Regions from separate parts of the Homo sapiens genome. Here region 2 is linked to region 1. The links are contacts of gene promoters, found by promoter capture Hi-C in human tissues and cell types (Jung and others, 2019). All regions are on one chromosome and are shown on one strand. The core of a region is centred on a gene start or on the middle of the fragment in contact, and the rest is flanking DNA. Distances in the headings are between cores, read along the strand shown. Region 1 holds the start of SLC25A2 (solute carrier family 25 member 2). Region 2 overlaps DIAPH1 (diaphanous related formin 1).

Region 1 (5,736 bases), core at 981-3,480:
GTTAGGAGTTCATGACGAGCCTGGCCAACATGGCAAAGCCCCATCTCTACTAAAAACACAAAAGTTAGCCGGGTGTGGTGGCGTGCACCTGTAGTCCCAGCTACTTGGGAGGCTGAGGTAGAAGAATCACTTGAACCCAGGAGGCGGAGGTTGCAGTGAGCCAAGATCGTGCCACTGCACTCCAGCCTGGGCAACAAGAGTGAGACTGCATCTCAAAAAAAAAAAGTATATATATATATATACTTTTTCTCATATATATATATATATGAGAGAGAGAGAGAGAGAGGAGTATTTTGGTATCAAGCACCACATGAAGATGTTTCAAAACTTGAACCGCCTAATGTAGTGCGCATGTTAAGCAGACTTTAAAAGAGATCCTGGCCGGGTGCGGTGTCTCATGCCTATAATCCCATCACTTTGGGAGGCTGAGCTGGGTGGATCACCTGAGGTCAGGAGTTCGAGACCAGCCTGGCTAACATGGTGAAACCCCATCCCTACTAAAAATACAAAAATTAGCTGGGCATGGTGGCGGGCACCTGTAATCCCAGCAACTCGGGAGGCTGAGGCAGGAGAATCGCTTGAACCAGGCAGGCAGAGGTTGCAGTGAGCCAAGATCATGCCACAGCACTCCAGCCTGGGCGACAGAGTGAGACTCTGTCTCCAAAAAAAAAGAAAAAAAGAGAGAGTGATCCTAAGTAATCATTCATACCTATCTTCACAAAATATGGTCAATTCTGGGTTTGGGGGGCTGATATTTGAGATTATATATAGAACTAAATTGTTTCACTCACGACATAGAATCATCCAAACTGCATGTACACACAAATGGCTTTATGCAAAGGCCCTGACAGAACGATATTTAGTTTTTCAGATTAGGTACATAGGGCCAACCAGCCCACCCTGTACATTCCAGCAAGTGCAAGAGCAGCAACTTTCCTATTTCAATACAATTATGGGCAGAAATTATATGATGTAAAATAGAGGCCCTTCCATAAAGTTAAGATTTAGGGTAGAAGAAGGGAAGATAAAACCAAAATTCCCATGAAGTCAAAATTAGACAGTGGTCTTGTACTCTGCTGAACCCTGTGATGAACTGTAGTCCTCAAACTCATGGACTCGGATCCAGGTTCACCAAGACACTTCAGTATGCTTCCAACTGTTTCATCATCATCTTCCTGCTGTATTCGTAGGCCACAAACAGTGCCCCATTGGCAGGGATTGCTCGAATCATAGTAGCTTTCAGTCCAGAATATAAGGCTACTATTCCTTCATTTCTCACAACACTTAAGAGGGTACCAATAAATCCTGCCTGTTTCCCATACATGGAAAGAACTTGAATTCTGGATTTAATACAATCCACTGGGAACACGACAAGCCACAGGCAAATTCCAGCAACTCCACCACTTAACATCAAATGGACAGGGCCTAGTTCATCTTTTGATCTCCCTGACGCAAAAAACGATCGGCTCAGTTCATAGCCACCAAAGAAAAAGAAATAACCCGGTACTTCTTGAAGTAGAGTACTCGAGAGTCCATGGTAGAAGCCCAAGGGGCCATCCTTTTTAAGGATACCCTTCACGACAGACCAAATTGTATTATGGCTTTTTGCTATCTTCCCTGACATCTCCATTTCATACATGGTCTGTAGCCGGCACTTCACAAGCTCAGTGGGGCAGAGAGCCAGTGCAGCAAATGCAGAGGCGAAGGACCCCGCGGCTGCAGTCTGGAGATCACTCAGCTTTGCCTGCTTGTCCATTCCAGCCACTTTCCTGACAAACTGCTGGCAGAACCCGTAGCACATGAAGAGGACCGAGTTTTCGGCGACGTAGGCCATAAGTGCCGGGCCGGTGCCCTTGTAGAAGCCCCGGAGACCCACTTGAGCGTATGTCTTCAGGAAGCAGTCGGTGAGGCCCTTGTACAGGTCAGGGAACGTCTGCATCTTCACTTTTATTGTGTCGAAGGGCTGCCCAGTCAGTACACACGCTGTCCCCCCTGCGGCCCCCGCTGTGAGGTCGATGGCGGCTTGGATGCCAGGACCGGACTTCATGTTCGCTCACTCGTCTGAGGGTCCCAGTGGAAGGCGACTAACTCCCCAGAGCGTGAGACCGGCTTTTCACGTCCAGCCGCAGCGAGCGCGGGGAATGGAGTTGGGGGTGGTGGGGTGGCTCTACCGCCTGTTCTGGGCTCTCACCCCAGTGCGGGGGAAGCCGCTCAACCCTACGCTCCGCCGCGGGCCGCCCCCTCCCCGCGCACTAAAATAACCCCCAGCTGCCGGCCCAGCGCGCGGCTCACTAGCGTTCCTGCGGCTCCTGGCGCACTGGCCGGGCCCCCAGCCGCCTCCAGCCTGGAGCCGCCATCCCTGCACCCGCAGGCGGGGGACGCGGACCGAATAAATACTTTTAGTGTACTGCGACTGGGCGCGGTGGCTCACTCCTGTATCCCAGCACTTTGGGAGGCCGAGGCGGGAGGATCGCTTGAGCCCAGGAGATCGAGACCAGCCTGGGCAATATGGCAAGACTCCATTTCTACAAAAACGAAAAAATACCCGGGCGCGATGGCGCGCGCCTGTGGTCCCAGCAATTCAGGAGAATGAAGCGAGGATCGCTTGAACCCGGGAGGTCGATGCTGCAGTGAGCTATGATCGCACACTGCACTCCAGGGTGGGCGAAAGGGTGAGGCTCTGTCTCAAAACAAAACCAAAACCAAGAAAACATGTAAAGCTTTTCGATAAATTCTTGCAATTATGGCCGGGAACTCTAGACGCCGCAGTTCAGCTGGCGGCAAAAGAAATGCTGTCCTAATCAGTCAGCCCTGCTTCTTTTCTTTTCTCTCTTTTTTTTTTTTTTGACTTAGGGTCTCACTCGGCCGCCTAAGCTGGAGTTCAGTGGCGCGATCCTGGCTCACTGCAGCCCCAATCTCCTGGCCTCAGGCGATCCTCTCACCTCAGCCTCCTGAGTAGCTGAGACTAGAGGGACTACAGGCGCAAGCCACCACATCTGGCTAAATTTTGTATTGTACAGACGGGGTTTCGCCATGTTGCCCAGGCTAGTCTCGAACTCCTGAACTCAAGCAATCCACCCACTGGCCTCCCAAAGTGTTGGGGCTTACAAGCATGAACCACCACACCCGGCCTATCCCACGCTTCTTACCATGCAAAAAACAAAAACAAACAACCCGAAAAGAAGATGCCCTCACTTGAATAGACCCTGAATTCAGAGGGTCAATCTACAAGAAAACTGCTTTAAAGTAGATAAGACAGGCCAGGTGTGGTGGCTCATGCCTGTAATCCCAACACTTGGAGAGGCTGCGGAGGGAGGCTCATTTGAGCCTAGGAGTTCAAGGCTAGCTTGGGCAGCAAAATGAGACACCCCTTACCCCCTACAAAAAATAAAGTAGAGAAGACAAACTGTCAGAGGCGCTGGAACCACAGCAACTCCATCTTGACTAGGGACTGAGTAAAATAAGGCCGAGACCTACTGGACTGCATTCCCAGGAAGACAGGCATTCTAAGTCACAGGATGAGATAGGAGGCCGGCACAAGATACGGGTCACAAAGACCTTGCTGATAAAACAGGTTTCAGTAAAGAAGCCAGCCAAATCCCACCAGAATCAAGATGGCATAATAAGTGACCTCTGGTCGTCCTTACTGCTCATTATACGCCAATTATAATGCATTAGCATGCTAAAAGACACGCCCACCAGCGCCGTGTCCACTTACAGATGCCATGGCAACAATAAGAAGTGACCCTATGTGGTCTAAAAAGGGGGAGGAATCCTCAGTTCCGGTAACTTTGGACCCCTTTCCCAGAAACCTCATGAATAATCCACCCCTTGTTTAGCTTACATTCAATAAAAAACTGTAAGTATCCTTAGTCAAGCCGCCCAGGCCACTGCTGTGCCTATGGAGTAGCCATTCTTTTGCTTCTTTACTTCTCTAATAAACTTGCTTTCACTTGACTCTATGAACTTGCCCCAAATTATTTCTTGCATGAGATCCAAGAACAATCTCTTGGGTCTGGATCGGGACCCCTGTCCGGTAACGAAACGATCTGAGGGTTGCTACATGAGAGACAGTGACTGCTTTTGATCAGAAAACCCTCAGCGATCTGCCCACGCTCCTCACTTTCCTGGGGGGCAAGGAGGGGAGTAGGGCACTGTGGGAATCCTTAGCCCTGGAGATGTGCTACTGCTTTCCTGCAGAGCTGGAGAAATGCTATCACATGGCAACATCCCCAAGGATCTGGGGTTGCAGCCCTGGGAACTGGTGGAACGTGGAGTCCTTATCATTTCTGAAGATAGAACACGGCACTATAAAATCAACTTGGAAAATGGATAGTATTTATATACTGCATTGCTAAGAAACTTGATAGAAAAGAGCTGGGTGGCTCAGCACTATGCTTTCTAAGTTTTGAGATTCTCTTTGAGGACCCACACAGCCTCATGCAGAAGTAGAAATTTGTCGTTTGTACACTGTTGGTGGGAATGTAAAATAGTTCAACCCCTATGGAAAGCAGTATGGAGATTTCTCAAAGAACTAAAAATAGAACACCCATTCAACCCAGCAATCCCACTATTAGGTATCTACCCAAAGGAAAAGAAATCATTTTATCAAAAAGACACCTGTGCTGGGGACAGTGACTTACACCTGTAATCCCAGAATTTTGGGAGCCCAAGCCAGGTAGATCGCTTGAGCCCAGGAGCTCCAGACCAGCCTGGACAACATGGCAAAATGCCATCTCTACAAAAAAATACAAAAAGTAGCCATGCATGATGGCATGCCCCTGTAGTGGCAGCTACACAGGAGGCGGAGATGGGAGGATTGACTGAGCTGAGTTGGAGGCTGCAGTGAGTTATGATCCAGCCTGGGTGGCAAAACAAGACCCTGTCTCCAAAAAAAAAACCAGAAAACATCTACACTCATATGTTTATGGAAGCACTATTCACAACAGGAAAGTCACAGAATCAATGTAAGTGTTCATCAATAGTTGATTGGATAAAGAAAATGTGGTATATGTATACCACGGAATACTATGCAGCCATAAAAAAGAATGAAATTATGTCCCTCACAACATGGATGGAGCTGGGGGCTGTTATTCTAGGTGAAATATCTTAGAACCAGAAAATCAAATACTGCATGTTCTCACTTATATAAGTGGGAGCTAAACAATGGGTACACAAAGACATAAAGATGGGAATAACAGACACTGGGGAATCCAAAAGTGGGGAGGGTGGGAGGGATTGAGGGTTGAAAACCTACCTGTTGGGTACTACATTCACTATGTGGGTGACGGGTTCACTAGAAGCCCAAACCTCAGCGTTACACAACATACCCATGTAACACACCTGCACATGTACTCCTTGAATCTAAAATGAAATTCAATTTAAAAAGAAGTAGAAGTTCGGGATACAAATGACATGTCTAGCTTTCAAAGCAAGATGTTTTTTGGACATTAGTGAGGATACCACTGTCAGGACACACTTCTTCCTCCCAGATATTTATAATCCCAGCATTGGAATGAATTCTCTCCAGGCTTACATTCCAAGCCGTCGTCGGCCATGGGTAGTAAAAACAAAATCTGGGGGGAAGAAAGTATGCTGAAAGCATTCTCTTTCATTTAGAAAACTTTCCTTGTCTAATTATCCTTGGCTGTCAATTAAAAGTGAGGTACTTCAGAACAAAGGTCTCTGAGAAAATTTAAAAAAAAATTTTTTAATGAGGTACTAAAAAGCAAATTG
Region 2 (5,216 bases), core at 231-2,730, 270 kb after region 1:
TCAAAATATAATTTTCAGAAGTATTCAGGACCAAGAAAACGTAATTGCTCTGACAACTGAGAGACCTGGAAAAACTTTTGTAAAGTTAACACAAGTATTGCTGCCATGCTAAGAAAACTCCTTTTTCCACATCAGCTACCCTACCCTATCTACTTCAAATAATCAAAACTTCTTGCCATCCGCTCCTAGTGCCAATACTTTCCCATCTAAAAATTTGCGTTTGATCCTTCCTGTGATGGATAGTGCTATTGCTAAATCTATACTTCCAGGAAACTAGAAAGAATTTTAAATTGCCACTTCTGTTTGCTAACATCTTCATCCTATTTACCTACTCCCCTCCAAAAACAGAACGGCATTTCACCTTATACACTCTGACCTCTGCCATAGGGATGCCTTTGAGTTGGATTAAAGAAATAAGACAACTTCCTTTATATCGGTGACTAATGAACCCTAATCTTGGGTCTTTGTCTTTACATTTTCCTTTTACAGAACAATCTTTGAATTTAAGGAATTCACTCTCTCCACTTAGGCTCAAATTCAAAACTTCTCATAAGCACAGCATCTTACCTGGCCTCATAGTCATTTCGGACCAAGAGTAAGTGCTGCAGGATGGAAAGGAAGTGTGGCTCTGCCTTTGAATCCTTCACTGTGTTTAAGAGAATCTGAAAGACTTCATTAAAGTCAGTGGAAAAGGGAAATAGGCTAAGGAAAGCAAATATGCAGAAATTATGTTTGACAGGTGGCTTATTTAACTCTTGAAAAAGCTAGGGAAAAGTAGCAAGACACCACTTCCATTCTACTGGCTGTTCTTCCTGTAAACATCACCAGAAACTTTAAGCTTTCTAAAACGTCCTTTAAGGGACCAGTGAATTGGGTGGTACTATACACACAGAGGATTCCTAGTAAGTACTTGGCTTGAAGATCAGGCAGTAGACAGAAAATAAGAGGTAACTGCCTCAAAGTCACTTACTGAAAATATTAACAGGTAACTAAATTACTCCCTCTGTCAGTCCAAACATCTCTAAAAGCCAGTTCTACATCTTAGTAAGCTAAGCTATCACATTCTAGGAAGTTTACACTGATTTTGATGGCTTCCATGCTCAACAACCCTCAGATCACCTTTACTGACTTCCCTGATCTATGATAAGCTAAGTAAAGCCAGCGCAATAAAAATACACCTGCCTTATTTAATGAGAAGACACATAAGCCTGATGCTCTGTTCTGAGTCATCATCTCCCAAACCATTCCACACAGGGATCAGGGAACTAAATACAATGAATGTCTCATCTGCCTTGAACCTAGTCAGCAAAAGGATATTCCATCTCCATGCGAATGTCATCCAGCCGTCCCTTCAGGTCATAGGAATCCTCTTCCCCTTGTTCATCAAACACATTTAGTTGCACTCTCATATCTTCATTTTCAATCTCTCGAAGGTCCTGTCAACAACAAAAGTAGAAGTCAGGGAACCCAAAAGTATCCTCTGTGGTTAGAAACCTAAGCTTTTCAACCTGGTTTTTAATTGAAAACCAGAATTATCCCCGGGATTATTGGGGCTGTAGAGCAAGAAGGAACCAGTCTAGCCTTTCTAATGAAGTGTAATATCTTACCTGCAACACCTGATGTAGCCCCAAACGCATCAGTTCACTTCTGATGTGAACTCGGAAGTCAAGTTCCTCCGCTGGTGTGATGAGAGCATTGATCAGCTGTAGGCATCCAACCTAAAATAAGAAAATTCAGCAGCTATGTCAATGCTAACTCCTGGAGATCAAGAATCCATTTTCTTTACATGCATTCTTAGGTCCCCAATACAACCTGAAAGATACAATACAAAAACTCTAAAGATGACTTTTCTACTATAGCAATGAGACCTGGTTTGAGTACAGATCCGGAGAGCCTAAACTCTAAATGGTTTCAAGGATTTGAGAGTATATGTTATTGTAGGTCTTGGTTTTCCTAGATTGTAAATAGATATCATGCCTTTTTCCATCTCATAATGAGGAAAACAGTTCATTCTTTACCTTCTTAGAAAGAAGGTTAATCATTTTCCCTTCATAACAGATTCTGAAATGTAAAATATATAGTTGGGAGGCACTCCATGTATTTTATTAAAAGGTCAAATGAATTTAAGTCTGTCCATCTTGAATTCTATTCTTGGGCCCAGTTTCAGGGGATATACATGCCTTCAGTGCAATAGTGGTTCCACTTTTTAATCCATCCAGCAGCGGCTGGAAACGTTCCACTTCATCCATCTCAGCTCTTTCTGTCATTGCCTCCAAAACCCTTTCATTCCTGCCCAAGAGAAAGGAAACGGAGAGAACTTTCCAGGTACTGTGACACGGACACGTATAATGAGTAAATTACACAGGGGCACAGACCGATTAGGAAACAGGACATTATCAGTGTTCCGGATTTCTCACATTATTATTCTCACCACTCAGTTTCCAGAAACTGCTGAAAGCTAAGGACCATCTCTTCAGGGAAATGCATTCCCTACAATCCATCCCTAGGCTCCTGTCCATAAATACCAAATCAAGTCCCCTATTCAATGAAGTATAAATTGATACAACTTTTGGAGGGGCATTTAACAGTACTAATCAATTTCTCATGCATGTAACATATAGTCTACTTCTAGAAATGTATCCAACATATGGGCATAAATGTGAAAGAAGATATGCACAAGGATGTTCACTGCAGTATCATTTGTAAAAATGATCACCTAGAACAGATAGTGAAATCTGCTTTAAAAAATATCTGTAAGTTGGCTGGGCGCAGTGGCTCACGCTTGTAATCCTAGCACTTTGGGAGGCCGAGGCGGGCGGATCACAAGGTCAGGAGTTCGAGACCAGCCTGGCCAATAGGGAGAAACCCCATCTCTACTAAAAATACAAAAATTAGCCAGGCGTGGTGGCGGACTCCTGTAGTCCCAGCTACTCGGGAGGCTGAGGAAGGAGAATCGCTTGAACCTGGGAGGAGGAGTTTGCAGTGGGCCGAGATCGCGCCACTGCACTCCAGCCTGGGGAACAGAGCGAGCCTCCGTCTCAAAAAAAAAAAAGGAAAAAAAAAAAATCTGTAAGTCCAGCAACAGGGGAATTGTTAAATAAATTATAGGCCATACATACATGTATATGGAATACTAAATAGCTACTAAAGATAATAAGGTAGATCTGTAAGTACCGACATAGAAGAAATGTCCAAGATCTACTATTAAAAAGAAACAGGTTGAAAAGAATGATTTAGCTTTGGTTAAACCAAATCCCTCTTCAATAATAAAAATCTATCCTATATATGCAGTTAGTTTTATAGGCATAAGTGTCATTCCTCAGCTCTTAAGATACTATCTTTTGCGGTGGCAGATGTCTAGAATCAAGGGAACGCAATATGTTTGTCTATGCTTAGGAAACGTTCTATGAGACTATACCATGCCATTAACAGTCATTCTCTTTGCAGAATAGGATTTGGCAAAGGGATGAGGCAGTTAAATTTTACTTTATATACTTCTATATCGTTTGAGTTTTAAAAATAACATTGTGCCACTTCTGAATTAAAAAAAAAAAGAATAGTAAAAAGAAACCCTCATCCTAGACAATACAGATATTAATGGAGATATAGGAGACATTTTGCTATACCTCTGATGACCAGTGGAACATTCAGGATAGCACCCATCACTTAGGAATTGTTCTTAAATTTTAAGATGCTTAGTGTTCACTTCTGGGAAGAAACACAATCTTACCTAGTATTTATGACCGAGAGGACACCCAACCAACTCAATTGTCCTCTGAACTAAGAGAAAATGATAAAATTGAAAATGGAGAAGAAAAATTATTCCAGTCACATACATGTCCTCTGGCTGCGGTAGAATACAAAGAGCAGAAAGCAGCTTAGCTGCATCAATCATCATGTTGGGAACAGCAGGATCCATGGCTCTGACCAGCAGTAGGATTCCTTCTTCTGTCTCCAACATGGTCTTGATTCCAAACTGGTAGGACCAAGAACAAAGAAAGGAGGCTGAAAGACGAAAGCATCTAACTGGGGGACAAGTTTACGGGTTGTTATGGGTTGAATGGTGTCCTCTTAAATTCCAGTGTTGAAGTCCCAACCCCCAGTACCTCAAAATGTAACCTCATCTGGAAATATACTCATTGCAAATATAATTAGTCAAGCTACAATGAAGTCCTGCTGGGGTAGAAAGGGTCCTTAATCCAATATGACCAGTGTCCTTATAAAAAGAGGAAATTTGGATATGGATACATACAGAGGGAGAACACCATGTGATCACATAGGCAGAGATCAGGATGATGCATCTACAAGATAAGGAGTGCCAAGGATTGCCAACAAGCTACCAGAAACTAGGAGGGATATGGAACATATTACCATATACAGCTTCAGAAAGAACCAACCGTGCTGGTACCTTGGATTTTGAAATTCTAGCCTCTAGAATTGTGAGATAATAAATTTCTGTTAAGATATCTAATTTTGTGGTACACTAGCAAATTAATACAGGGGTAGAATACTTTTCCCAATATAATTAGAGATGAACATACCAAAATAATTTTCTAGGAGGCACAACAGAATTAGATGTCTTCCAAGAATAAAAGTCTTTGATTTATATGTTTCTTGTTAATTCTCTCCCCGCAATCCAATGGAATAAGTTAATTATAACAAAATTAAACAATGAGGAAGAGAGATTTGTCCTCAGAGGCACAGGACTGTGGGCTCACTAGGTTGAATTACTAAACAGACAAAAAGAAGATAAAAATGGAGCAACAGTCTAGAAGAAAAAAGAAACAGGAAATAAAGCAAATATTGCAGAGACAATAACTACAGGTCAGGAAATTCAAGAATTAGCAAAAGAAAGTAAAGAAACAGGCCGGGCGCTGTGGCTCATGCCTGTAATCCCAGCACTTTGGGAGGCCAAGGCGGGTGGATCACAAGGTCAGGAGATCGAGACCGTCCTGGCTAACATGGTAAAACCCCGTCTCTACTAAAAATAAAAATTAAAAAAAATACCCGGGCGTGGTGGCGGGTGCCTGTAGTCCCAGCTACTCGGGAGGCTGAGGCAGGAGAATGGCATGAATCCAGGATGTGGAGCTTGCAGTGAGCCGAGATCGAGCCACAGCACTCCAGCCTGGGCAACAGAGCGAGACTCCATCTCAAAAAAAAAAAAAAAAAAAAAAAAAAAAGAGAGAGAAACAAAATTGAGCCTGTCCTCTGAAACA

Evidence for each region. Contacts are between HindIII fragments. The study calls those that stand out against the background at their distance.
Region 2: a contact is called between a fragment that was not itself captured here and the fragment with the promoter of SLC25A2 in region 1, in 1 of the 25 tissues and cell types used here (hippocampus).

What each region holds. Positions count from the first base shown.
Region 1 is chr5:141,301,819-141,307,554 of GRCh38, forward strand. It overlaps SLC25A2 (solute carrier family 25 member 2), which reads right to left and starts at 2,231. Exons shown (of 1, transcript NM_031947.4): 1 at 817-2,231. The coding sequence starts at 2,047. The coding sequence ends at 1,142. The HindIII fragment of the contact is 6,230 bases long and covers 1-5,378 here.
Region 2 is chr5:141,576,908-141,582,123 of GRCh38, forward strand. DIAPH1 (diaphanous related formin 1) reads right to left here. Exons shown (of 28, transcript NM_005219.5): 8 at 3,837-3,976; 9 at 2,181-2,289; 10 at 1,608-1,718; 11 at 1,318-1,436; 12 at 568-684. Among named protein-coding and RNA genes, the nearest start is that of DIAPH1-AS1, 21 kb to the left of the region's middle. The HindIII fragment of the contact is 3,959 bases long and covers 1-3,460 here.